Linked DNA regions of Homo sapiens: all the other regions are linked to region 4. The links are contacts of gene promoters, found by promoter capture Hi-C in blood cells and fetal thymus (Javierre and others, 2016). All regions are on one chromosome and are shown on one strand. Each heading gives the region's core, a stretch centred on a gene start or on the middle of the fragment in contact. The rest is flanking DNA. Distances are from core to core; before and after follow the strand shown.

Evidence for each region. Contacts are between HindIII fragments. The CHiCAGO score rates a contact against its expected background, and 5 or more counts as called.
Region 1: a fragment that was not itself captured here is called in contact with the fragment with the promoter of S100A13 in region 4 in 2 of 17 cell types (naive B cells and total B cells); the score reaches 7.1 in naive B cells.
Region 2: a contact is called between a fragment that was not itself captured here and the fragment with the promoter of S100A13 in region 4, in 1 of 17 cell types (total B cells). The highest score is 6.0, in total B cells.
Region 3: a contact is called between a fragment that was not itself captured here and the fragment with the promoter of S100A13 in region 4, in 2 of 17 cell types (M0 macrophages and erythroblasts). The highest score is 7.4, in M0 macrophages.

Annotation. Positions count from the first base shown.
Region 1 is chr1:154,229,022-154,234,557 of GRCh38, forward strand. All of the region lies in intron 4 of UBAP2L (ubiquitin associated protein 2 like), which reads left to right. Among named protein-coding and RNA genes, the nearest start is that of UBAP2L, 11 kb to the left of the region's middle. RefSeq lists an enhancer at 4,164-4,663. The HindIII fragment of the contact is 3,253 bases long and covers 218-3,470 here.
Region 2 is chr1:154,205,770-154,211,805 of GRCh38, forward strand. LTAP1 (lipid transport auxiliary protein 1) reads right to left here. Exons shown (of 7, transcript NM_001098616.3): 7 at 951-1,879. The coding sequence ends at 1,684. CFAP141 (cilia and flagella associated protein 141) reads right to left here and starts at 564. Exons shown (of 4, transcript NM_001010979.3): 1 at 506-564. The coding sequence starts at 538. The HindIII fragment of the contact is 1,373 bases long and covers 1,404-2,776 here.
Region 3 is chr1:154,175,855-154,182,220 of GRCh38, forward strand. TPM3 (tropomyosin 3) reads right to left here. Exons shown (of 10, transcript NM_152263.4): 3 at 261-394. Among named protein-coding and RNA genes, the nearest start is that of TPM3, 13 kb to the right of the region's middle. RefSeq lists enhancers at 4,339-5,335, 6,309-6,366. The HindIII fragment of the contact is 2,058 bases long and covers 2,562-4,619 here.
Region 4 is chr1:153,624,731-153,630,949 of GRCh38, forward strand. It overlaps S100A13 (S100 calcium binding protein A13), which reads right to left and starts at 2,775. Exons shown (of 3, transcript NM_001024211.2): 1 at 2,753-2,775; 2 at 1,590-1,803. The coding sequence starts at 1,742. It overlaps S100A1 (S100 calcium binding protein A1), which reads left to right and starts at 3,704. Exons shown (of 3, transcript NM_006271.2): 1 at 3,704-3,766; 2 at 5,779-5,932. The coding sequence starts at 5,792. RefSeq lists enhancers at 2,197-3,022, 3,849-4,672. The HindIII fragment of the contact is 11,281 bases long and covers 2,246-6,219 here.

The sequences.
Region 1 (5,536 bases), core at 594-3,093, 600 kb after region 4:
GCTGAATTAGAGGTGCGATTTGATAGCCTTGGATATTGCTGTTGAACAAAGTCACACACTATACTTGATTCTGTTTTTTTTTCTTTTTATTTTATTTTATTTTATTTATTTTACATATTTGATTCTGAATTCAGGACATTCCCCTCAATATCAGCTTCGCATTGCACACTACTGTTTCATTGCCTGAACTTCCTTCTGTTGAGGTAGCAGAGAAACAAGCTTTGTAGCCTGCTGACCATCCCTGGAGATGATAGGGGATATCTTGGAGGATCTCTTGCCCTGGAATTTAGACAAGTCGCTTTCACTTCTCCTTCCCACTTCATGAGAATTCTGTTTTTATGCTTGTCTTATGTTTGTACCAAATTGTAATCCTCTGACTGCCTTATTGATCTTCAGAATGTTCCTGCAGTGCTTACTAGAGAAATTTTGTTTTTTTAATGAGCAGTGTATTATTATTATTATTATTATTTTGAGCCAGGGTCTTACTCTGTGGCCCTGGCTGGAGTACACTGACATGCTGCAACCTCCTCGTCCTGGGCTTAGGTGATCCTCCTACTTCAGCCTCCTGAGTAGCTGGGACCACAGGCATGGGCCACCATGTCCAGCTGATTTTCCCATTTTTAGTAGAGCCAGGGTTTCTCCATGTTGCTCAGGCTGATTTCAAACTCCTGGACTCAAGCTAGCTGCCCGCCTCGTCCTCCCAAAGTGCTGGGATTATGGGCATGAGCCACCGCACCTGGCCCAGTGTATTATTTTGAAATCATTTTCATTTATTGGGTCTTATACTGGGGCTCTTTGGTTGGAATAGATATCAAAATTCATCCTTACAGATAACAACTTGTTTTTTTTCTTGAGTCAGAGTCTTGCTCTTGTTGCCCAGGCTGGAGTGCAGTGGCGTGAACCTGCTCTCTGCAGCCTCCACCTCCCAGGTTCAAGTGATCCTGTGCCTCAGCCTCCAGAGTAGCTGGGATTACAGGCATTCACCACCATACCCAGCTAATTTTTTTTTTTTGAGACGGTGTCTCTCTCTGTCTCCCAGGCCGGAGTACATCTCGGCTCACTGCAAACTCTGCCTCCTGGGTTCAAGCAATTCTCATGCCTCAGCTTCCCGAGTAGCTGGGACTACAGGCATGCACCACCATGCCTGGCTAATTTTTTGTATTTTAGTGGAGACAGTGTTTCACTATGTTGCCCAGGGTGGTCTTGAACTCCTGAGCTCAGGCAATCCTCCTGCCTCGGCCTTCCAAAATGTTAGGATTACAGGCGTGAGCCATGAAACCTGGCCTCAGATACAACAGCTTTCTGATACTACAGAGTCACTCCAGCTAAATGCAGGAGGTTTGTCAATTTCTTTGAGACAATGGGAAATAATAATGGAAAACTTTTAAAAACAATTGAATTTAAATTGGTGGGTTTTTTCTTCAAAAGTGTTATCCTGGATTAAATTTTACACTGTTGACCTTATTTGAATATTTACTATCTGGCCAATCAAGATATGCTTTTGATTTGTTTTGGGTTTACTCTAGAATAATTGTCTCCAGATTTTATGGGGGGAATCAGGTGGGGCTATTTATGTTTTTTTAAAAGTCTGAATGTTTTTTCGCAAATCACATTTTATCTTACCTTCCAGCATCTTCTGTCTAGTGCTATAAGGCTGATGTTATACAGTATCAAAAAGGAAAATAAGCTGGAGAATATAGGTTTATGTTACGAATAAACTAGCTACTAGTGAAACCAATGGGAAGCAAAGTCAGCTCCCAGGGATATTGGATGTATTTGGGTGGGTGAGATCATTTCAGAAAACTGAAGTCGCCTTTGGGAAGATAATAGTAATTCTTTCTCCTGACCCATCTTGTGCCAGCAACAGATGTGCATACAGAGGAGGGAGAAAGGTTACAGTTTCCTGAAACTTGCCAGGTTTTGAGATAGCAGCATAAATTCTAAAAGCTGTTTTGAGTCTAGCTTCCAGAGTGTTCCTGGTGTATATTTAGCTACAGGGTTGTTCTAACTTACTGTGAGCATAAAATGACCCACTAACTGTAATGTATAATAGGCTTGGGTTGGAAGAGTAGGCAGCAACAAACTACCAAGTCTTGGGTAGGTAATCTTTTTAAAACAAATGAATTAAGAGATGGGGTCTTGCCCTGTCACCCAGGCTGGAGTGCAGTAGCATGATCACTGCAGCCATGGACACCTGGGTTCAAGCAATCCTCCCACCTCAGCCTCTTTAGTAGCTGGGACAACAGGTGTGCGCCACCACACTTGGCTTTTTTTTTTTTTTCTTTTTTCTTTTTTTTGAGATGGAGTCTTGCTCTGTTGCCCAGGCTGGAGTGCAATGGTGAGATCTCGGCTCACTGCAGCCTCTGCCTCCTGGGCTCAAGCGTTTTTCCCACCTCAGCCTCCCAAGCAGCTAGGGCCACAGGTGTGTGCCACCACACCTGGCTGATTTTGGTATGTTTAGTAGAGACAGGGTTTTGCCATGTTGCCTAGGATGGTCTCTAACTCCTGGCCTCAAGTGATCCACCCTCCTTGGCCTCGGAAAGTGCTGGGATTATAGGTGTGAGCCACCATCCCCGGCCCTGTTTTCTATTTCTATGAATTTGCCTGTTTTAGAGATCTCATGTAAGTGAAATCATGTAATATTTGACCTTGTATGTCTAACTTACTTCACTTAGTGTAATGTTTCAAGGTTCGTCCATATTGTGGCATGGGTCAGAATTTCATTCCTTTTTAAGGCTAATATTCCGTTGTACATATATGTGGCATTTTGTTTACTCATCAGTGGACACTTGGAATTATCTGGAAGTTGTAGACATAATACTTGATACCCTTAAGTTCTTCAACATGCTTCCCTTAAAGGAGGATACTCTTACATTACCATAATACTATTATCAATCCTGATAAGGTTAATAATTTTGTATTATCTAATACTCAGCCCATATTCTGAAAGTGATTAGACATTAGGTAGCTGTTACTGAGCACTAGGGCCATGATTGAGTTTGATGGTAAGATAATAAAGATCTGAGGCTGTGCACAGTGGCTCACACCTGTAATCCCAGCACTTTGGGAGGCCATGGCGGGCGGATCACGAGGTCAAGTGATCAAGACCATCCTGGCCAACATGGTGAAACCCCATCTCTACTAAAAATGCAAAAATTAGCTGGGCCTGGTGGTGCCCTGTAGTCCCAGTTGCTTGGGAGGCTGAGGCAGGAGAATCACTTCAACCTGGGAGGCGGAGGTTGCAGTGAGCCGAGATCGCACCACTGCACTCCAGCATGGTGACAAAGTGAGACTAAGTTTCCAAAAAAAAAAAAAGGAAAGAAATCTGATAGTGTTGGTGTTTGTCCTGGAAGTTCCATTTGTACAGGTTTTTTACAAAAATATGTGTAAATCAAGGTATGCATTTTTTTAAAAACTTTTAAGTTTACAATGCTCATTTTCCTGAGGAAGAGTGTTTTGCAAGGGTGTTAAGCTTATTTTCCTTACCACAGACTTTCCCTCTTGCAGTTAGGAATGTATCATAGATATGTATTTTTCACTGGGGAAAGTTAAATTGGCTGATACCAATTTAGGAAATATAGGGAGAACACTGCAAGTAAAACCTGGATGGAAGGCTTTGTATAATCAGTATCTCTTGGGGTCAGGGCTGCGACTGTCGTTTGGTCTTCTTTTATTTTTATTTTTATATACTTTTTGAGACAGGGTCTTACTCTGTCACCTAGACTGAGTACAGTCACATAACCACGACTCACCGCAGCCTCAATCTCCTGGGCTCAAGTGATCATTCTGCCTCAGCCTTCAAGTGGTTTGGGTGACAGGAGTGTACCACCATACTTGGCTAATTTTTAAATTTTTAGTAGAGACCAGAGTCTCATTTGGTTGCCTGGGCTGGTCTCAGATTCCTGGCCTGAAATGATCCTCCTGCCTTGATCTCTCGACCTCCCAAAGTGCTGAGGTTATAGGTGTGAGCCACCACACCCAGCCTTACCTTTTTTTCTTTTTTTTTTTTTTGAGATGGAGACTCCTCTGTCGCCCAGGCTGGAGTGCAATGGCAGGATCTCAGCTTACTGCAACCTCCGACTCCTGGGTTCAAGCGATTCTCCTGCCCCAGTCTCCCGAGTAGCGGGGATTACAGGTGCCTGCCACCACGCCCAGCTAATTTTTTGTATTTTTGGTAGAGACAGGGTTTCACTATGTTGGCCAGGCTGTTCTCAAACTCTTGACCTCAGGCAATCCACTCTCCTCGGCCTCCCAAAGTGCTGGAATTACAGGCGTGAGTCACCGCGCCTGGCCCTTTTTTTTCTTTTTTTTTCTTTGAGATGGAACCTTGCTCTGTGGCCCAGGCTAGAGTGCAGTGGTGTGGTGCGATCTTGCGTCATTGCAACCTCCACCTCCCAGGTTCAAGCAGTTCTCCTGCTTCAGCCTCCTGAGTAGCTGGGATTACAGGTGCGCACCACCACACCTGGCTGATTTTTGTATTTTTAGTAGAGACGGGGTTTCACCGTGTTGGCCAGGCTGGTCTCAAACTCCTGCCCTTGTGATCTGCCCGCCTTGGCCTCCCAAAGTGCTGGGATTACAGGTGTGAGCCACCGCACCTGGCCACCCAGCCTGATCTTTTAAATGAAATTGCTGTGTGTGTGTGTGTGTGTGTGTGTGTCTGTAGGTAGGTAGCTCTAGTTGTTTTCCTCCTAAATTTATGGGTGAGATTAGAGAACGTGCCCAAGAGTAGAATGCTGCTCATTCATTCTGAATTCATAGGTAACTTTTAGAAACATTTTCTTTTTTGCTTTATTTGGTATGAATGATGCTATAAAAAGTTGTGGGTCACTGACTCCGAAGGAAATTAGTTTTTTCTTTTTTTTTTTTAGCCCAGGAAATAACACTTGAAAGATAGGGACCAATAACTTGGTCCTTTGACTAATATGCTAAGTGACTGAATTAGATAGAGGTCTTTGTAATCCTCTTGGAAGTGATCCCTGCAATGTTTCCTATAAGTACCTTCCCTACAAAAAAGACTTTATGGCTGGGCTTGGTGGCTCACGTCTGTAATCCCAGCACTTTGGGTGCAGTGGCTCACATCTGTAATCCCAGCACTTTAAGAGGCCGAGGTGGGTGGACCACCTGTGGTCAGGAGTTTGAGAGACCAGCCTGGCCAACGTGGTGAAACCCTGTCTTTACTAAAAATACAAAAATTAGCCGGGCATGGTGTCGCGTGCCTGTAATCCCAGCTACTTGAGAGACTGAGGCACGAGAATCGCTTGAACCTGGGAGGTGGAGGTTGCAGTGAGCCAAGATCACACCACTGCACTCCAGCCTGGGCAACAGAGCGAGACTCTGTCTCAAAAATAAATAAATAAATAAATATAAATAAATAAAAAATAAAGGACTTTACTTTTTGTAGTGATATGTATAAAATATTTAAACAGAAGTAAAAGCAAACTAATGGAAGTGTTTTAGACATGGATGCTGAGTGGAGAATGGTTAAGTCAATCAGTCATCCCAGCTTTCATCTCTAGTGTCCTGATAGCACTCCATA
Region 2 (6,036 bases), core at 840-3,339, 580 kb after region 4:
TCTCGGCTCACCGCAATCTCCGCCTCCCGGGTTCAAGCGATTCTCCTGCCTCAGCCTCCGAGTAGCTGAGATTATAGGAATGCACCACCATGCCGGGCTAATTTTGTATTTTTAGTAGAGATGGGGTTTCTCCATGTTGGTCAGGCTAGTCTCGAACTCCTGACCTCAGGTGATCCGCCCACCTCAGCCTCCCAAAGTGATAGGATTACAGGCGTGAGTCACCGCACCCAGCCACATAGACCTTTTTGAGAAAGCAATTTCCTGGGGGGAAATAGGGAGAGGAAAGCTCTACTTTCAGAATGGATCAAAGAAAACACGCAGGGGTTGGATAGAACACATATTTGAATACCTACTGTGTACTAGACACAGCCTCCCACTCCTGTTACTAACTACATTATACCCTTGTTACATCAAAAGCCTTTCCCAGTAAAAGATGCACTTATAGTAAATTGATCTGGAAACTTCATCAAACTTCAACCCAGCCCCTCCTTCCAACTCTGCATACCTCTTCTACTTTTGTCATCTTTTCCACAGACATGTCTATAGATTTGCTTGATACAGTCTGAGGAGACTGACAGGCTCCTCTGTTTAGTTCAGTAACCAAGGTTTCAGTAGTCATAGTAACATTTACACCTCCAACAATAACCCTGGGCCTAGGAGTTGATTGGCCACCTGGCCTGTTGCCCCAGAAACCTTGAGAGAATCCTTGTTCTGCAGCCTTCTGTTGGTGACACAGGCATCTATGAGCAAGGGCCACAGTCCTGATTTTAGGATTTCTTGTGCTAGGGTCCCAAGGAGTATGTGTATGGTCGTAGGTCCAGGGTATGCACACAGTCCCACCAATTCTCTGGAGGCAAATCCTCATGCCCTATACCCTGTTAGAAATGTGCAGATAACATTATCAAATGCCTGTTTTATTAAAAGACAACTATAAAGGACTGATTCATACGTTTTATTTGATAATAGTTCATTTTATTAAATAATTTATAAAGTCAGACCAGTGCATTGGGCTTGTTAGGGGAAACCATTCCTTCCTACTGTCACATAGCCTGGCAGATTATATCAGGTGCCAAAACATTCCCTTTTATTCAATTTATTAATGAGAGTGTGGAATTAAAGTAGATCCTTGCATGTCAGGAAAGCTGCAACACATCTGGTTTAAGTGGAGCACAAAGGTAAGTTATTCCACATTCACCAACTTCCCCACTTGACCTCCCACCAGTTCCTGTCTGCTTTTTCCATCAATCAACTCTAAGATGCCCTAAACCCAAACAGTTCCCATTCAACTGTGCACAAAGGTATAGATATGGAAGACATCTCACTCCAACTCTCACCTTTGGAATTAAATAAACCTGGAACAGGGAAGGTGAACTATGGCTGAAACCAAGTGAAGATTTTTAAGAAGCTTTGACAGAAACATTAAGAATAACACCTGAATGCAAATCCAGAAAAAAGCGCTACTGGGGGAAAATAGTCTTAGCCAATGTTCTAAAAATGCTCATAAGGAAGGGTTGGGGAATTACCCTTTAGACACAAGCTCTAAGAACTCTGGATACAACGGGAACTTGGATGGATACAGTCTGGGCCTGCTGGGCCAGATGTTCCGAGGGCGGCCCGGCAAGCAGCCTGTCTTGCACATTGCAACTGACTGGCTTAATCTACGGCAAGAGTCCTTCAGCTCCGTCACAGAGTACTCTCCAATGTGTTATAGTTATCCTTAAAGCTCTTCAATTCAAGGAAGTGCTTGGCACGTTTACTCTTCTGACTGGAGGGGAGGTATGTCACCTGGATGGTTGTTGGGGAGACCTCAGGGGACTGAGTTAGGTCTTTGGCTGCTGACTGGTGATGTCGCTGAGAGCTCCCAATTCGTGCTTTAACCCTGAAGAACAGAGAGGGGAGGTCATTGACAGAATGAGGACTAATCAAAGAAATCAGGGCTTATCCCAGGCCATAAATGCAGCAATAGTCACAAATAGTTATTTGTGTCCTATCTGTCCTATTTTGTAAACTAGTTACTAAAACCCCATCTAGTAGCTTAGAAATACAAGAGGCTGAGCGCGGTGGCTCACGCCTGTAATCCCAGCACTTTGGGAGGCCCAGGCAGGTGGATTGTTTGAGGTCAGGAGTTCGAGACCAGCCTGGCCAACATGGTGAAACCCTGTCTCTACTAAAAATACAAAAATTAGCTGGGAGTGGTGGCGGGTGCCTGTAATCCCAGCTACTCGGGAGGCTGAGGCAAGAGAATCACTTGAACCCAGGAGGCAGAGGTTGCAAGCCAAGATTGCGCCACTGCACTTCAGCCTGGGTGACAGAGCAAGACTCCATCTCAAAAAAAAAAAAAGTAGCAGAGAGGCTGGGCATGGTCACTTATACCTGTAATCCCAGCACTTCAGGAGGCAGAGGCCAGAGATCGCTTGAGCCCAGGGGAGTTTGAGACCAGTCTGGGAAACAAAGTGAGACCCTATCTCTGCAAAAAATTAGCCAGGTATGGTGGCAAGCACCTGTAGTCCTGGTTCCTCAGGAGGCTGAGGCAGGAGGATCGCTTGAACCCAGAATTCGAGGCTGCAGTGAGCCATGAATGTGCCACTGCACTCCAGTCTGGGCGACAGACTGAGACCCTGTCTCTCTCTCTCACACACACCCTAAAAAAGTAGCAGCACTCCAGCCTGGGTGACAGAATAAAGGCCCTGTTTGGGTACCCTGACACACACCTACTCATACCAAAAACAACTAGCAGCAGAGAAACCAATTTCCCAGAGTTCTTGCCTCTGGCTCAAGCTTTTTTTTCAGAGACAGGTATCCCCAATATAGGTATCACCTTGTTTTGCAGATTAGGAAACTAAGGGTCCAATAATTAGCTTGTATGAGGTCACAAAACTAGTTAAGTGACAGACCTGGGATTCAAACCTAAGTTTGTCAGATTTCAAAGCCTATACTCTTCACTAAACCCAATGAACATTCCTAGAAACTACAAATCAAACATAATTTTTTGTTTTTGAGATGGAGTCTTTTTCTCTGTTGCTCAGGCTGGAGTGCAGTGGCACAATCTTGGCTCACTGCAACCTCTGCCTCCTAGGTTGAAGCGACCTGTCTCGGCCTCCCGAGTAGCTGGGGATTGCAGGTGCATACCACAATGCCCAGCCAATTTTTCTATTTTTAGTAGAGACAGGGTTTCACCATGTTGGCCAGGCTGGTCTTGAACTCCTGACCTCAGGTGATCCACCCGCCTCAGCCTCCCAAAGTGCTGGGATTACAGCCGTGAGCCACCATGCCTGGCCTTCAGAAATAATTTTTAAAAAGATTGTGGTAAAATACATGTAACATAAAATTTACCATCTTAAGAATTTTTAAATGTATGGTTCAGTAGTGTTAAGTATATTCACAGTGTTGTGCAACCAACCTCCACATTTTCATCTTGCAAAACTGAAACTATACCCAGTGAACAACTCCCTATTTCCCCCACTCTCCAGCCCCTGCAACCATCATTCTACTTTCTGTCTCTGAGTTTGACTACCTAGGTATCTCATATAACTGGAATCATCTAGTATTTATCTTTCAAAGAAAGTGAATTTTGAACAGGCTTCTGCTGACTTCTAGACCAAATGCCCTTTTCCAGCCTTTCTACATGTTCATTTTCATCAGTGCTCTAAGCAGTTTTTTTTTTTTTTTTTTTTGAGACAGTGTCTCACTCTGTTGCCCAGGTTAGAGGGCAGTGGCATGATCTTGGCTCACTGCAACCTCTGCCTCCCAGGCACAAGTGGTACACGCACCTCAGCTCCTGAGTAGCTGGGACTACAGGTAGGTGGTCGCCACCACTCCCAGCTAATTTTTTTTCGAGATGGAGTCTTGCTCTGTTGCCCAGGCTGGAGTGCAGTGGCGCGATCTTGGCTCACTGCAAGCTCCGCCTCCTGGGTTCATGCCATTCTCCTGCCCCAGCCTCCCACGTAGCTGGGACTACAGGCACCCGCCACCACGCCCGGCTAATTTTTTTTTTTTTGTATTTTTAGTAGAGACTGGTTTTCACGTTAGCCAGGATGTTCCCGCTCTCCTGATTTCATGAACCGCCCGCCTCGGCCTCTCCAAGTGTTGGGATTACAGGCGTGAGCCACCACACCTGGCCTAATTTTTTTATTTTTAGTAGAGACAGGGTTACACTATGATGCCCAGGTTGGTCTCAATCTCCTGGGCTCAAGTAATCCACCCATCTCAGCCTCCCAAAGTGTTGGGATTACAAGTACGAACCACTGCAGCTGGCCTTCTAAGCAGTTTTTACTAGGACCTTTCATCTTTTCGAGACAGACTCTTGCTCTGTCACCCACGCTGGAGTGGCACAATCTCGGCTCACTGCAACCTCTGCTTCCTGGGTTCAAGCAATTCTCCTGCCTCAGCCTCTGGAATAGCTGGGATTACAGGCATGTGCCACCACACCAGGCTAATTTTTATATTTTTAGTAGAGATGAGGTTTTGTCATGTTGGCCAGGCTGGTCTCCAACTCCTGGCCTCAAGTGATCCGCCCACCTTGGCCTCCCAAAGTGCTGGGATTATAGACGTGAGCCACTGCTCCAGGCCTTGGCCCTTTCATCTTTTAAGACAACGTAGCTCATTTTTAGGGACAGAGAGAAGACAGGAGAGACATACCCCTTAAGCTCTTGAAAAAGAGCAATATTCAACATAGCAGAAAACAGATTATTTTTATGGCTGGTAACTAACTGTTTATTATTATTTTGAGATGGAGTCTCGCTCTGTCGCCTAGGCTGGAGTGGAATGGCACGATCTTGGCTCACTGCAACCTCCACCTCCCAGGTTCAAGCGATTCTCCTGCCTCACCTTCCTGAGTGGCTGGCATTACAGGTGCGCACATCATCATGCCCGGCTAATTTTTGTATTTTTGTAGAGATGGGGTTTCACCATGTTGGTTAAGCTGGTCTTGAACTCCTGACCTTAGATGATCCACCTGCCTCGGCCTCCCAGTGTTGGGATTACAGGTGTGAGCCACTGCGCCCGGCCTAAGTTTTTACTCTAGATTGGCTTTCCTTTCTCGCCAAGAACTTTGATTTTAACATTTGCATGAAAATACGAGACTATGTTTAGTGTGTATTAAAAACATTCCCAAACAAAAGCCATGAATCCTCTCCTGTGACACAAATGCTCAACAGCTGACTCTATAGCGATGGCCTTTGTTTCAGACATGGTTACTAATACTTTAAGTGGTAGTAAAAATAGATTTTTTTAATTTTTAATTTTTATTTTTTTTTTGAGACAGTCATGCTCTTGTCACCCCAGCTGAAGTGCAATGGCATGATATCGGCTCATTGCAACCTCCACCTCCCGGGTTCAAGTGATTTCTGCCTCAGCCTCCCGAGTAGCTGGTATTACAGGAGCCCGCCAGCATGCCCAGCTAATTTTTGTATTTTCAGTAAAGACGAGGTTTCACCATGTTGGCCAGGCTGGTCTTGAACTCCTGACCTTGTGATCCACCCTCCTCGGCCTCCCAAAGTGCTGGGATTATAGGCGTGAGCCACCGCGCCCGGCCAAAAATAGATGTTATTTAATTCTTTTTTTTTTTTTTTTTTTTTTTTTTTTTTTGAGATGGAGTCTTGCTCTGTCACCAGGCTGGAGTGCAGTGGCGTGATCTCAGCTCACTGCAACCTCTGCCTCCTGGGGTCAAGCGATTCTCCTGCCTCAGCCACCCGAGTAGCTGAGATTACAGGCACGCACCACCATGCCCAGCTAATTTTTGTATTTTTAGTAGAGACAGGGTTTCACCTTGTTGGCTAGGATGGTCTTGATCTCTTGACCTCATGATTCGCCTGCCTCGGCCTCCCAAAGTGCTGGGATTACAGGCGTGAGCCACCGCGCCCGGCCCAATGTTATTTAATTCTTACTTTTATTGGGCCAAGACACAAAAGGGACGCTGAGACTCTGAAGAGAAGGAATCCCTGTGTGTGCTGAAAAACTATTCCCTTTGCTAGGCTACACCAATTTTGACATTTTATTGGGCTAAACAAAAGACAAGAAAAATGCACACAAGAAAAA
Region 3 (6,366 bases), core at 2,341-4,840, 550 kb after region 4:
ATTTTATTTTTATTGACTGATTGACACAGGGTCTTTCTCTGTCACCCAGGAGTGCAGTGGCGCAATCAGAGCTCACTGTAGCCCCAACTTCCTGGGCTTGAGCCACCCTCCTGCCTCAGCGTCCCAAAGTGCTGGGATTACAGGCGTGAGCCATCACACGCAGCCAGAATTGCTATTTAGAAAACAGGTCTATAAGGAAATCTTGATCAGAACTATTATGAACTTTTAAAATCCACACTCCATCAGGCTTCCCTACACACCTCTCACTCTCATCAGCAGCTTTTTCAGCTTCTTCCAGCTTTTGCAGGGCAGTGGCCAGGCGCTCCTGAGCACGGTCCAGCTCTTCTTCAACCAGCTGGATCCTACGGTTCAAGGAGGCCACCTCAGCCTCAGCCTGCATTTGAAGGAAAGAATGGACAAGGGAAGCAGAGGCATGGAGAAAAGAAGAAATAACTATGACATTAAGATCAGGGTTGACTACCATGAAAAAGCCAGAGTCTCGCAGGGTAGAACTTGTCTTAGCTCAGCTGTTAAAAGATCTAGCAGACATAACTTTATATATATATATTTCCTCCCTTTCCCATCAACGAACTCCCATATGTTCCACAGGAAGAGTGTTTTAAAACTCAGTTCCTTGCCCAGCCCAGTGAGTTAGTACCACCCACTTCCTGGACTCAGTTCAAATTCCTCAACACACTGGAGTCAGAAAAGAAAGTCAATGAAGGGTTCCTTCTGCCTGAGCTCTGGCTTGGAGGCATGTCTCATCCTCAGTAACCTTTCAAGTGTCTCATAAAGCAGGAAAAAAAAAAAAAAAAAAGCAAGGTTTCTTAAAGAGGGTATCCTGACTGGGTGTGGTGGCTCATGCCTGTAATCCCAGTATTCTGGGAGGCTGGGGCGGGTGGATCATGAGGTCAGGAATTTGAGACCAGCCTGGCCAATATGGTGAAACCCTGACTCTAATAAAAAATACAAAAATTAGCCAGGTGTGGTGGCGCGTACCTCTAGTCCCAGCTACTCGGGAGGCTGAGGCAGAAGAATCCCTTGAACCCGGGAGGCAGAGGTTGTACTGAGCTGAGATTGCGCCACTACACTCCAGCCTGGGCAACACGGTGAAACTCCATTTCAAAAAAAAAAAAAAAAAAAGAGGGAATCCTGGATTACCTATTAATTGCTGCTTAACTCAAACCGTTATTCCTATGATCACTTTACCCTAACACATCAGAAGAATAACTAGCCAAGGGAATGTCTTCCAGAATAGCCTTCCAGACTGGAAAGCAAAAGAATGGAATATTGTTGGGATGCCTACTCACCAGCCCTTCAACTTGTGCCCCCGTACTCCTTTTTTAAGTTGGCTACAAGGAGCTGCTTCTGGCTAAAATTATCTGCTTTGATAGCTTTACAAAAAAGAAAGAACATTTCCACCACACCCACTACCATTCCTCCAAATTTCTGAATTTTCTCCTTTCTATTCCTCCAGCCATCCCCTTAGCTTCACCCTCTAATACAGCGACAATCTTCCCCCTGGCCTCCATCTCACAATGAAGTATATAGGTTAGAGTCCAAGTAAACCCATCCTGGATGGGTTTTCTCTAAGAAACAAGGAAAGAAGGAGGCAGCCTGCAGGTGGATGGATAAATTCTAATGGTAGGAAAACCTCTTTCCATGACTGCCTCCCCGCTACCTTTACTGGTGGGAGGTACCCTGACTGCAACAGTATACAAGAATTTAATATGCCCCGCACACCACCCAGTTCAGATGCTTATCCAAGTGCCTGGTAAACACGATCTCTCTTCTATAGCCCAGATTGTGCCTGAATTCTATTACCCTGATTTCTTCCTGGCAGGCAGGAGTTGGTGCAGCTATAGAAACAGCCTGGGCCACTAGCTCCGATGAGGAAGAATATAGACCAAAAGACTCCTTTTTAACCATCAGGACTGGCACAAAAACTTCCACATACAAACATGAGAAGCTGAAGAGACTAGGAAGGGAAGCAGAGGGCTGGGGCTACAATCTAGCCACCAGGCAAAGAAAATCGAGAAGTCAACATAAGCTGAAATCATTAAGAAACCATTTGTGCCTCTAACTACACTACTCAAAACACCACAAAGACAAGTATTCTCTGCTTCTGCCTCTTCCAGAAAAATAGATGTTCTCTGTAACAACACACATTTCTCCTCACAAACCCAACAAGGCCATGGATCAAGAGCAAGTCAGGCTATCAGGCAAGACCTAGGAGACACTGCTAGTAAAATGACTTACCCCCCTCAGACGAAAAATACAACTAGATTTAGAGGAAGCTCATGAAATGTAAGACATCATGCAGCTCACCAGTAGTTACCCAAACTGGAGTAGAAGATAACAGGCTATGGGGCGGGGGTGTACAGTTGCCATGACAGCAAGCTGGCTCAGGCAGTTTCTCCCACAAATCAGCATTTACAATAGAATTCTTAGCAAGGCTGAAAAGGGAGAGGGGGAAAACACATCTTGGTGCCCTCCTAAGAGCATGCACACATGAACAAGCCTGTATCAAAAGCAGAACCTGAGATGGGAGTCCTAGAAAAAGCTTCAGAGACCCCCTCCAGGGTGGAGTGGTAGGGAATGGGACCTTGCCTTTCTCTTTTCTCCTAGCACAGAGGATCAGTTCTCTTTACAATGAAACAAAAGCCTGCAGAATCAAGATCTGATACTTTGTTTAAAGGAACAAGGAAGACAAGCTGACTTTTCCCTCATGAGTCTATGCACAGTGCCTGTCCCTTTCAGGTCAAATAATACCAATGGGTACCAAGAGATTGAACAGGCCTACTTTTTGCAGACCAGGCTACCTGTGGCCCTGGGAAACGTTAAGCTCTGCACTTTCCTAATCATCTTAGGTTTTAGCATGCCCATCCAGATGCGGTTTTGGTGTTTCAGCTGACCTATCTCTGCCCAGTGTGGAGGATATACAGTACTCTGTGGTTCTTCCCTTCAAGTAATAATAGGATTCTCCACTGCCCAGGAAGCAAAGATCCTGGGTGAGGGATTGGGGAAAGAGTAGAATGCCCCAGCAACTCAGTCACATTACCAGATGGCTGACAACACCTTCGGCTATCCTCCACTCCAAAGAGATTTCCCAAATATGTCAACCCCTCCAGGCAAGAAACTGACAGTGTGATGGTACTCTCAGGCAGAACAGGGCCAAGGACAGAAGGGGATTAGCCTAAATCTGGCTTTCTGCCACACTGGGGTTTCTCTTATTAGATAAAAGCCACAGATAAAATTCAAATGAAAGAGTATCAGAAAGTTAGGCTTGAGCCCTGTGAGTAAAGGACTATTTGAGTTCACTGTGCTCACAAATGCATTACCCAGGGAGATACCGTGTCCTTGGGGAATTTAAACTTCACCAAAGGGGAGGCAAGTTGGAAGGGAGTAGAGCTATCTGCCCCACAGTAAACAAAGGCGGAGCCTAAGCAGGGGTAAAGGGCTATCTGCCTCTCCCCTGTGAGTGTGTGTTCTAGTACTGGGGAAAGAGAAAGGAAAGCAAAGCAACCAAAGAAAGGTTGCTTAGTCCACCAGGCCCACGAATAGAAGAGAACCACACAACAGTCAAGCATTCTAACCTCTCCAGAGACTAGGAATTTAGGATTAAGGCCAGAATCAAAGCCCACTCCCTCGGTAGTACTCTTAAGGTTTTTGTTATTACTTTTTTTTTTCTTTTTGAGGCAGAGGTAGTGTGCTGACCTTACACTCCCGCAGTTGACCCCTCACTCCCCCAGTGCCGATACTCGCCCAGGCTGGAGTACAGTGGCATGATCCAATCCTGGTTCACTGCCACCTCCGCCTCCAGGGTTGAAGCAATTCTTGTGCCTCAGCCTCCCAAGTAGCTGGGATTACAGGCATGCGCCACCATGCCCAGCTAATTTTTTGTATTTTTAGTAGAGATGGGGTTTCATCAGATCCACAGGTGGACCTCAGATCCACCCGCCTAGGCCTCCCAAAGGGCTGGGATTACAGGTGTGAGCCACCGCACCCAGCCTCTTAAGTTTTTTAGACTAGAAAAAAATTAAAAAGAGAAAAATATCAGGGACAATTAGGAGAGAGTTATTAAAAACAGATAAGGTGAACTGTACATTTATAAATGGTTAAAATGGTAAATTTTACATGTATTTTTATCACCACTACCACAAAAAAAAAGAGATAAGGAAAAAGACTGCATTTAAACATTATGTTGCCATCTGTTTCCATTTAGACAGAAGTAAAAAGGAAATACAGAACTGAAAGTAAATTTGACAAGGTGCTACATTATAAAAGACCAATTTCCAGGCCGAGAGCAGAAAAGAAAGATGGATCCTAGAACACCAGTGTCTCAGTTTTAGACTCATCTAGCTTCCCAACAAGGGTGGCTTGGATGTTCACACAAAGTAACCAGGAAAATAATTAAGTGACAATCCCACTAACAGCATGAGATACCATCAGAGAGTGCAGTTTCCCGCTCCAGAGGAGGGAGGAGTCTGCAAAACCCACATTCCAGAATGCCTTAAGAGGATAACAGGTAGCCCAAGCAACCCCCCTCCCTTCCCACAGGTGTCTCCTCCTCAGTAGGGGTTCAAAGTTCAGCAGAGCAGCAGAAAGTCAAAAGATTAAGCTTCTTCAGGCTGGGGAGTAGAAGAAATGATTTCATCAATATTTAACTATAACTCTACTTCCCCATTCTGAGGACTTCCTCACTAGACCTCAGCTCAATAAGCAAATTTGGCAGGCTCTGAGTGAAAGTAGCTTAAGAAACATCACCCCAGGACAGGCGCAGTGGCTCATGCCTGTAATCTCAGCACTTTGGGAGGCTGAGGCAGGCAGATCACTTGAGGTCAGGAGTTTGAAACCAGCCTGGCCAACATGGTGAAACCCCATCTCTACTAAAAATAAAAAAATAAAATAATAAAAAAAAATCGCCGAGTGTGGTGGTGGATGCCTGTAATCCCAGCCACTCAGGAGGCTAAGGCAGGAGAATCACTTGAGCCTGGGAGGTGGAGGTTGCAGTGAGCAGAGATCGTGCAACTGCATTCCAGGCTGGGCTACAGAGCAAGTCTCCATCTAAAAAAAAAAAGAGGGGGGATGGGAGGCAGGAATCACCCACCTTAGAACTACTCCTAGAATGTCCATATTTAAATACTGAGCCTAAGATTCTGCAGCTCAACACATGGCCAGTTCCTCTGTCTTCCCCTTTAAAGCTATCTGGTCTCCAGAACAAAGGAGATGAGAAAGTGCCACTGGCCATAAAGAGTCACCCAGCCAGTCCATCTCACTTGCACAGATAATAAGAAGTTGTTGGCAAACTGAACAGAGGAAAAAAATCTACCTAGAAAAAGGTGTCTGAGGAAGACAACAAGCTCCCATCCCAGCATCTCCATGACCACTTATAAAAATAAGTGAGTATTCCAACAATCTTTAAGTATTTAAACTGGAGGGCAGCTGTCCCCCAATTACCATCCTTTTCTGAAATCCACCCCTCCCCCTCCCAAAAACATTCTCAGTTATTTCCCAGAGGAGCAGCCAAAAAGAAAAACAAAAACAAAAACTTACCAAGGGAAAGAACAAAGAACAAAGAATAAACCACATGAGTACTTTCACTGGATCTTGAATTTTAGCAACAGTTACTTTACTCTCTCAAGATCCTCCAAAACAAAGCCTCAACTCGTATCAGCTCCATCTATTAGACTGCACCCTAGACCTTGGAAAATCTTATGGCTTACACTAAAACTAATCAGCCACTTTTAAACAGAAAGACGTTTAAAGAAATCACTAGAATAGGCTGGGCACGGTGGATCACACCTGTAATCCCAGCACTTTGGGAGGCAGAGGTGGGTGGATCACCTGAGGTCAGGAGTTCGAGACCAGCCTGGCCAACATGGCGAAACCCCGTCTCTACCAAAAATACAAAAAATTAGCCAGACTTGGTGGCGGGCACCTGTAATCCCAGCTACTCAGGAGGCTGAGGCAGGAGAATCACTTGAACCCGGGAGGCGGAGGTTGCAATGAGCCGAGATCATGCCATTGCACTCCAGCCTGAGCGACAGAGTGAGACTCTGTCTCAAAAAAAAGAAAGGAAGAAAGAAATCACTAGAATCACTGTTCACTCCACCAACATTTTATGTTTCCACTTTCAGTTGAACAAATATTCCACTAGAGTCACCTGGAATTCATTATTGTCTCCACCAAATTGCCCAAGTCAATCAGAAACCTTGAGACTGGCACACCATCTGATTCTCTGCCATACACTCGCTTATCAGCTCTGCTCGGAAGAAATGTTCTTAACCAGTTCGGCTTGCACTGATCACACTTCAGCAATAAAGGCCTGAATCTGACAGAAGTTCCTGCCTTCCAGGTCATTGT
Region 4 (6,219 bases), core at 1,525-4,024:
GAGTTTGAGACCAGCTTGGGAAACACAGAGAGACCACATCTCTACAAGTAACTTAAAAATTAGGCCAGGCGCGGTGGCTCACGCCTGTAATTCCAGCACTTTGAGAGGCCGAGGCAGGTGGATCACCTGAGATCAGGAGTTCGAAACCAGCCTGGCCAACATAGTGAAACCCCGTCTCTACTAAAAATACAAAAATTATCCAGGCATGGTGGCGGTTGCCTGTAATCCCAGCTACTCATGAGGCTGAGGTAAGAGAACCACTTGAACCCAGGAGGCAGAGGTTGCAGTGAGCCAAGATCGCACCATTGCACTCCAGCCTCGGTGACAGAGTGAGACTCTGTCACAAAAAAAGAAAAAATTAGCCAGGCAGTGTGGCATGCGCCTGTGGTCCCAGCTACTTGTGAGGCTGGGGCAGGAGGATTGCCTGAGCCCGGAAGGTCAAGGATGCAATGAGCTGTGATCGCACAGTGGCCTGGGCAACAGAGTGAGAAACCCTGTCTCAAAAAAAAGTCTGAGAAGTTGGAAGTTGTAGGGGATTTTGCAGATGAAAGACCATGAGTTTCAGAGACTCACTGTGTTCAAGGAGTCCATATTCACACACTTCAACGTGCCTGTGGATTTTCAGAAAGGATGTAAAACAAACTGTCAACAGCCAGAATGACCAGGCCTCTTCGAGGCCAGAGTCGATGAAATTTAAGACCTGACTCCAGCCTGTGAGTGCGAGAGAAGGAATGACTCTTACACCCTAGTAAGGGGATGCCCATAGCGGGTAGGGAGTCTTCACAGATGCACCCACAGACCCCCTACACTGAGGTCTATGACTCCATGAATTTGGCTGTGTTTTCATTTTTGATAAGCCCCTTTCCACTGCTAGGCCTCAGTTTCCATATATGTGAAGTGAGGAATGCGGACTGTGTTTTCTCTTGGCCTCCTTCCAGCTCTGACAGTCTGTGAATCTCCTGGAAGCCAGCTCTGGGTCCAGTCCTGTCTTGGGGAAATTAGACCAGAAAGGCACAGAGCATACACAAGAACCCAACAGCATCTTCTGACACAAGACCATACTCCCACTGGCACATAGTATCTTTGCTTACCTAATTATATGCATGGACACACAAACACACACATGTACACACCAGGCAAGAAAACTCACAACCGGGTCAGGCGCAGTGGCTTGCGCCTGTAACCACAGCACTTTGGGAGGCCGAGGCGGGTGGATCACCTGAGGTCAGGAGTTCGAGACCAGCCTGGCCAACCTGGTGAAACCCTGTCTCTACTAAAAATACAGAAATAGGCTCGGCGTGGTGGCACACACCTGTAATCCCAGCTACTCAGGAGGCTGAGGCAGGAGAATCACTTGAACCCCGGAGATGGAGGTTGCAGTGAGCCAAGATCACACCACTGCACTCCGGCCTGGGCAACAGAGTGAGACTTTGTCTCGAAAAAACAAAAGAAAACCTGCAACCATTGACACATGCAGCCACCCACACCCTTTCTTGTGGTCACCTCACCGTACTCGGCACCATCACGTCCTAAACACAGTGTCCCATAATCATCATCTCACAAAATCTCAGTCCCAGACTTCTGCCTACCTTGAGCAGATGGGGCAACTGCTGGGTAACCAGCTCTTTGAACTCGTTGACGCTGAGGCTATCCTTCCGGCCCTCCTGCCTTGCAAAGGTGAAGAAGGTGGTGACCACGGTCTCAATGGACTCCTCTAGCTCTGTCAGTGGTTCTGCTGCCATTAGGACCCTGAGGCCAAAGCTGATGTCCTCAAGGGGCTAGCTGACCTTTGTCAGGGCTGACCTGTGGAAGAGAGAAGGAGCAGAGAGGGAGAGTCAGGGAGCCCCAAGATGCAGGAATGGTTCAGAAGGTCCCTGCCTTGGTGTTATCACATCAGTCTCAGCCTGGAGGGGGCATATGGGGAAAGAGGGAGAGGACAGGGGTTGAGCTTGGGGCAGCAGACCAGGCAACGGCATCTCAGTTTTGGTGGGGGCAGGAGATTCAGCTCCAGAAACCCCCTCTTCTGTAGGTCTCACAATCCGGGATCCTTTTTAAATGTCTGTGGCTTAGGGACCCCTCTGTGGTGATCCCTCGATCTGGAGACCCCTCTACTTGAGAGGAGGTCTTCAGTTGAAGGTCCTTCTTGGAGTCCTTCAAGTCTGGTGGCCCCTCTGTGGCGTGTCTGTCTCAAGAATCCCTTCTTGTCTCACCCAGACTCACAGGTCATAAGGTTGTTTGTCTCCAAAGCTTGTTTATGTTGGGCCCTGGTCTCCGGCCACTCGCATCCGCCCACACACACTCTAACCGCTCCTCCCAGCAGAGAAGCACAGGGTCTGGCAAATGTCCCCTGTGGTCAGAGCTGGCTCCGTCTGAACAGACCCATTTTCTCTGCCCCGCTCCACCCTTACCTCTCCTCAGCGGCAGCAGGGCAGAGTGCTGAACCCAGGACCCCACAGATCCTCCCCGCTCCTGTCTCCCGGTGACAAGGGTCCTGGAACGGGGCGTCTCTGACTCCCTGCTCCAGGACGGGTTTAGTACAGGCACTCACAACCCCCTGGGGTGCGGCGGGTGGGGCTGGAAGAGGCATTCTCTTTTCTGTCCACCCCGTCACACACTCCTGCACGCGCTGTTGCTCGATCATCCAAAGCTCCTTCCTGAATTCCTGTCTGAGCTGGCTCTGGGGGAGGGACCTGGGAGCCCAGGAAGAAAAAATGATCTCCAGCCTCCCTCCAGGGTCAGCCATGAGACTCACCCGGCAAGGAGATGGGGTAGAGTGAGCTGGAGCCTCAGGGCTGAGGTTTATAAGCAGCGGGGAAGGAGGAGAGAGCTGCTTCCAAGCCCGGAGGTGTCAAATTTCCGTGGTCGATTCTGAAGACCAGAGACAGCCCAATCAGGCCGCTTGCCCTGAGCCCTCAGGTCTGGACCCGGGCTCCCTGCCAGCCACACGAGCGCCCCCACTTGGTCAGGGAGAGGAGCTGCCTGGACAGATCTCGTTCGGCAGGGGTCCCAGGGTCCTAGTCCTCTCAATACTGGGGGCTGCTGCCACCATACCCATGTCTAATCAGGAGTGTGTATGCTGAGGGGGGAAGAGGGAGGCAACCAATCAAGGGAGCTCAACACTGAGAGGCCCAATCTGAGACACACACAGAGGCCCCTTGGAATGAGATCCCACAAAGGATGCTACAGACCAAGATCCCTCAGAGAACCCCAGGCTGAGGCCCCACACACAGAGGGGGATCCAGGTTGAGACCCCCAGAGAAGAGTCCTGGATTGAAATCCCTCTGTGGGTTCTCAGACTCCCAAGACTAAGTTTCTCACTGAGGGTCCTCTCAGTGAGGCCCCATGGAGGAGCCACAGACTAAGACCCCCTCAGCAGAATTCCCCCCTTACCGGGCTCAACCAGCACAGCCAGCCACAGGTACTGCAAGGCCCAGCTTGGGGTAAGACATCCAGTGTCCCTCCCAGGACCTCCTTCCCACCTCTTTCCCCTGCACCATCCACTGCTGCCTGGAGAGAAAGGAACGGGGCAAGCAAGGCTGGGAAAGAGACAAGGGCCGCCTGTTCCAGCCCAGGAGACAGAGGGCGCCTCTGTCTGCTCCTGGCCCCTTGCCCCACAGGGTGTTCGTCTGTGAAGGGGTGGAGTCGGTGGGGGGGTCAGCGGGGGAGGGACTGTTGAAGACAGGTCTCCACACACAGCTCCAGCAGCCACATTTGCAACCTTGGCCATCTGTCCAGAACCTGCTCCCACCTCAGGCCCAGGCCAACCGTGAGTACCCTGCCCCACTGGGCTAGTCCCTGGCCTGCCAGCTTCAGGGAGAGGGGTCTTCAGAAGGGCTCCAAGAGGCTGGGGACCATAGCACTGTGGAGCACTGAGGATCTGGGAGGAGTCAGTCAGGGTGAGGGCAGTTTGGGATTTGGGGGAGACAGGGTTTGGAAGGTGGTGATGAGAGACAAATGAACTGAAGGTCGGAGAGAGAGCTGGCAGCTCAGCAAAGGAGGAAGCCAGTGGGGAACCCACCATGAGCTTCCTGACCGCCTGGCCCTCCCACAGGGAGCCCTCAAGTCCCTGCCAAGGCCCCCTCTGTCTCCCAGGTGTTGGGAAGGGTCCCAGCCCTCCCCTGCCTCGCCTCCTGTGGGGTAAGAAGAGAGCAGATACAACAGCTGTTTCTGCCCCCACCTCTCCTGCCAGCCTTAGTCTCTGCCACCCCCACCCTGCCTTGCCAAGAGCTCAGGTCCCGGGGGAGTCTGGGGGTGGCAGGGCAAAGCTCCCATGATATGGGGAAGCAGAGATGTAGGGTGCTGTGCCCCTTCCCAACTCGACCTCCACAGGACCTCCCCTTTCTCCTCCTCCCATTTTTGGCCCAGACCTCTTGACTCCTCTTTCCCCCCATTCTTACCTCTTTGTTTCCCCATCTCCCCTGCCCCCAAGTCCTCTCAGAACTGCCACCACGTAAAATCCCAGGCTGCTTTAGGGCTCCAGGTGACCTCCAGCTGCCCCTCTGGCATGGAGCAGGTAATCAAGCTACCAGCACCCCTCCCTCAAGCACCCCTTATCCCCTCATCAGCCACAGCTTGGGTTCCATCTCCCCCATGTCTCTGTGACAACTGCTTCTCAGGTCCGGAGTTCAGATGACACTCACAAGGGCCCCATTGAAGAACTGGGATGTCATTCGATCAGGGGCCATTGTCCAGCCCCCTAGGCCTGGGGAAGGATGGGGACATCTGATCCGAGACACCTGAGCTGCCCCCTCTGGGGTTGTGGAAGGCCAGACTGTCCCAGGGCCAAGGGAAAGAGGCCCCCCGGCTTGGCAGTCTTCTCTCTCAACAGACCACTCCTTTCTCCTTTCTTCTCCTACTCTCTCCCAGCCCCTTGAACTCAAAGGACCGCATGCTTTCAGCCCTTTCTCTCCCCCAACACACAGCAGCCCCATTCCCCTTGCTCCCACTATCCCCGAATCAACCAGGAGTGAGCAGTTGCAGGGACAACGCCTGCAGGTCTCCTCTCCCACTCCCTGGGAACTCTGGCTCCAAGGAAAAGGCTCAGACATTCCTCTCTCCCCTTCTGCCACCCACCAGATGGAAGGGATAATTTTGCAGAGGCAATGGGAGCATATCCCAAAGAAGCCAAAATGACATGTTCAGGAGAGAACAGAGTTGAAGGACCAAAAGGGGCCCCCAGCTGCTGACAGGAAACTCAGAGTCAGTGAGACCTCCCTCCCCCAGAAGGCGTACGCCACCCACTGGGGCTGCCATCCCCTCTACCAGGCTGACCGAGGGTACCAGACTGACTCCTTGCTAGGGGTGGGCAGCAGAAGGAAGGCTGTAGTGGACACCCCAGCCCACCACCCTCAACAGCAGAGCTTGGCTATGCTAGACAGGCAAGGTCCAGGGTAAAAATAGAGCCAGAGGAAGCATGGCCCAGTCCTGTGACCACCCCTGCCTGCCCCACCCTCCTCAATCCCTGCCTGGGCAGCCACTGCAGACATCTACCACAGGCCTCTGGAGCCAGCCCAGCTCCAACTGCTCTCTCTCCATGCCCCAACCCTGATTCCCTCTGGCTGGGGTACAGACTGAGGGACACAGAGAACAGGCCTGCACTTAGGTCTCTTGGGGTTTCCCTCACATTGTAAAATCTCAGGGAAAGATCAATTGCAGTAGGGCTCTAATCCCACAGCTATTTGAGCTGTCAGCCAGGGCCAGTCCTGAGGGTTCCCCTCACCTAGACCCCAGGTACTCCGGGCCTGGTCCTCAGCTCACTTCCATGATGGGGGTGGGTAGGTGCACTGCTGCAATGGGCTCTGAGCTGGAGACGGCGATGGAGACCCTCATCAACGTGTTCCACGCCCACTCGGGCAAAGAGGGGGACAAGTACAAGCTGAGCAAGAAGGAGCTGAAAGAGCTGCTGCAGACGGAGCTCTCTGGCTTCCTGGATGTGAGCATAGAGTGGTGGAGTGGGAGTGGAGTGGGTGAAGGTTGGGGGAATGGGGTGGACACCCCCTTGCTATCTCCCCACCCCACCTCCAGCTCAGCCTAGCCTCTTTCTTTCCTTTCCCAGGCTTCTCTCCTGGGTTTTTCCAGGCTCCCCTACTCCTCCTGGGTCAAGTCAAAATGCCCTGGTTTATTGATCACCTGTTAAGTGTTAGGCCCTGTGTAGATTCATCAATAATAAGACACACAGACTTAGAAGGGAAAGATTGACACTTAAAAGTAAACCATGAA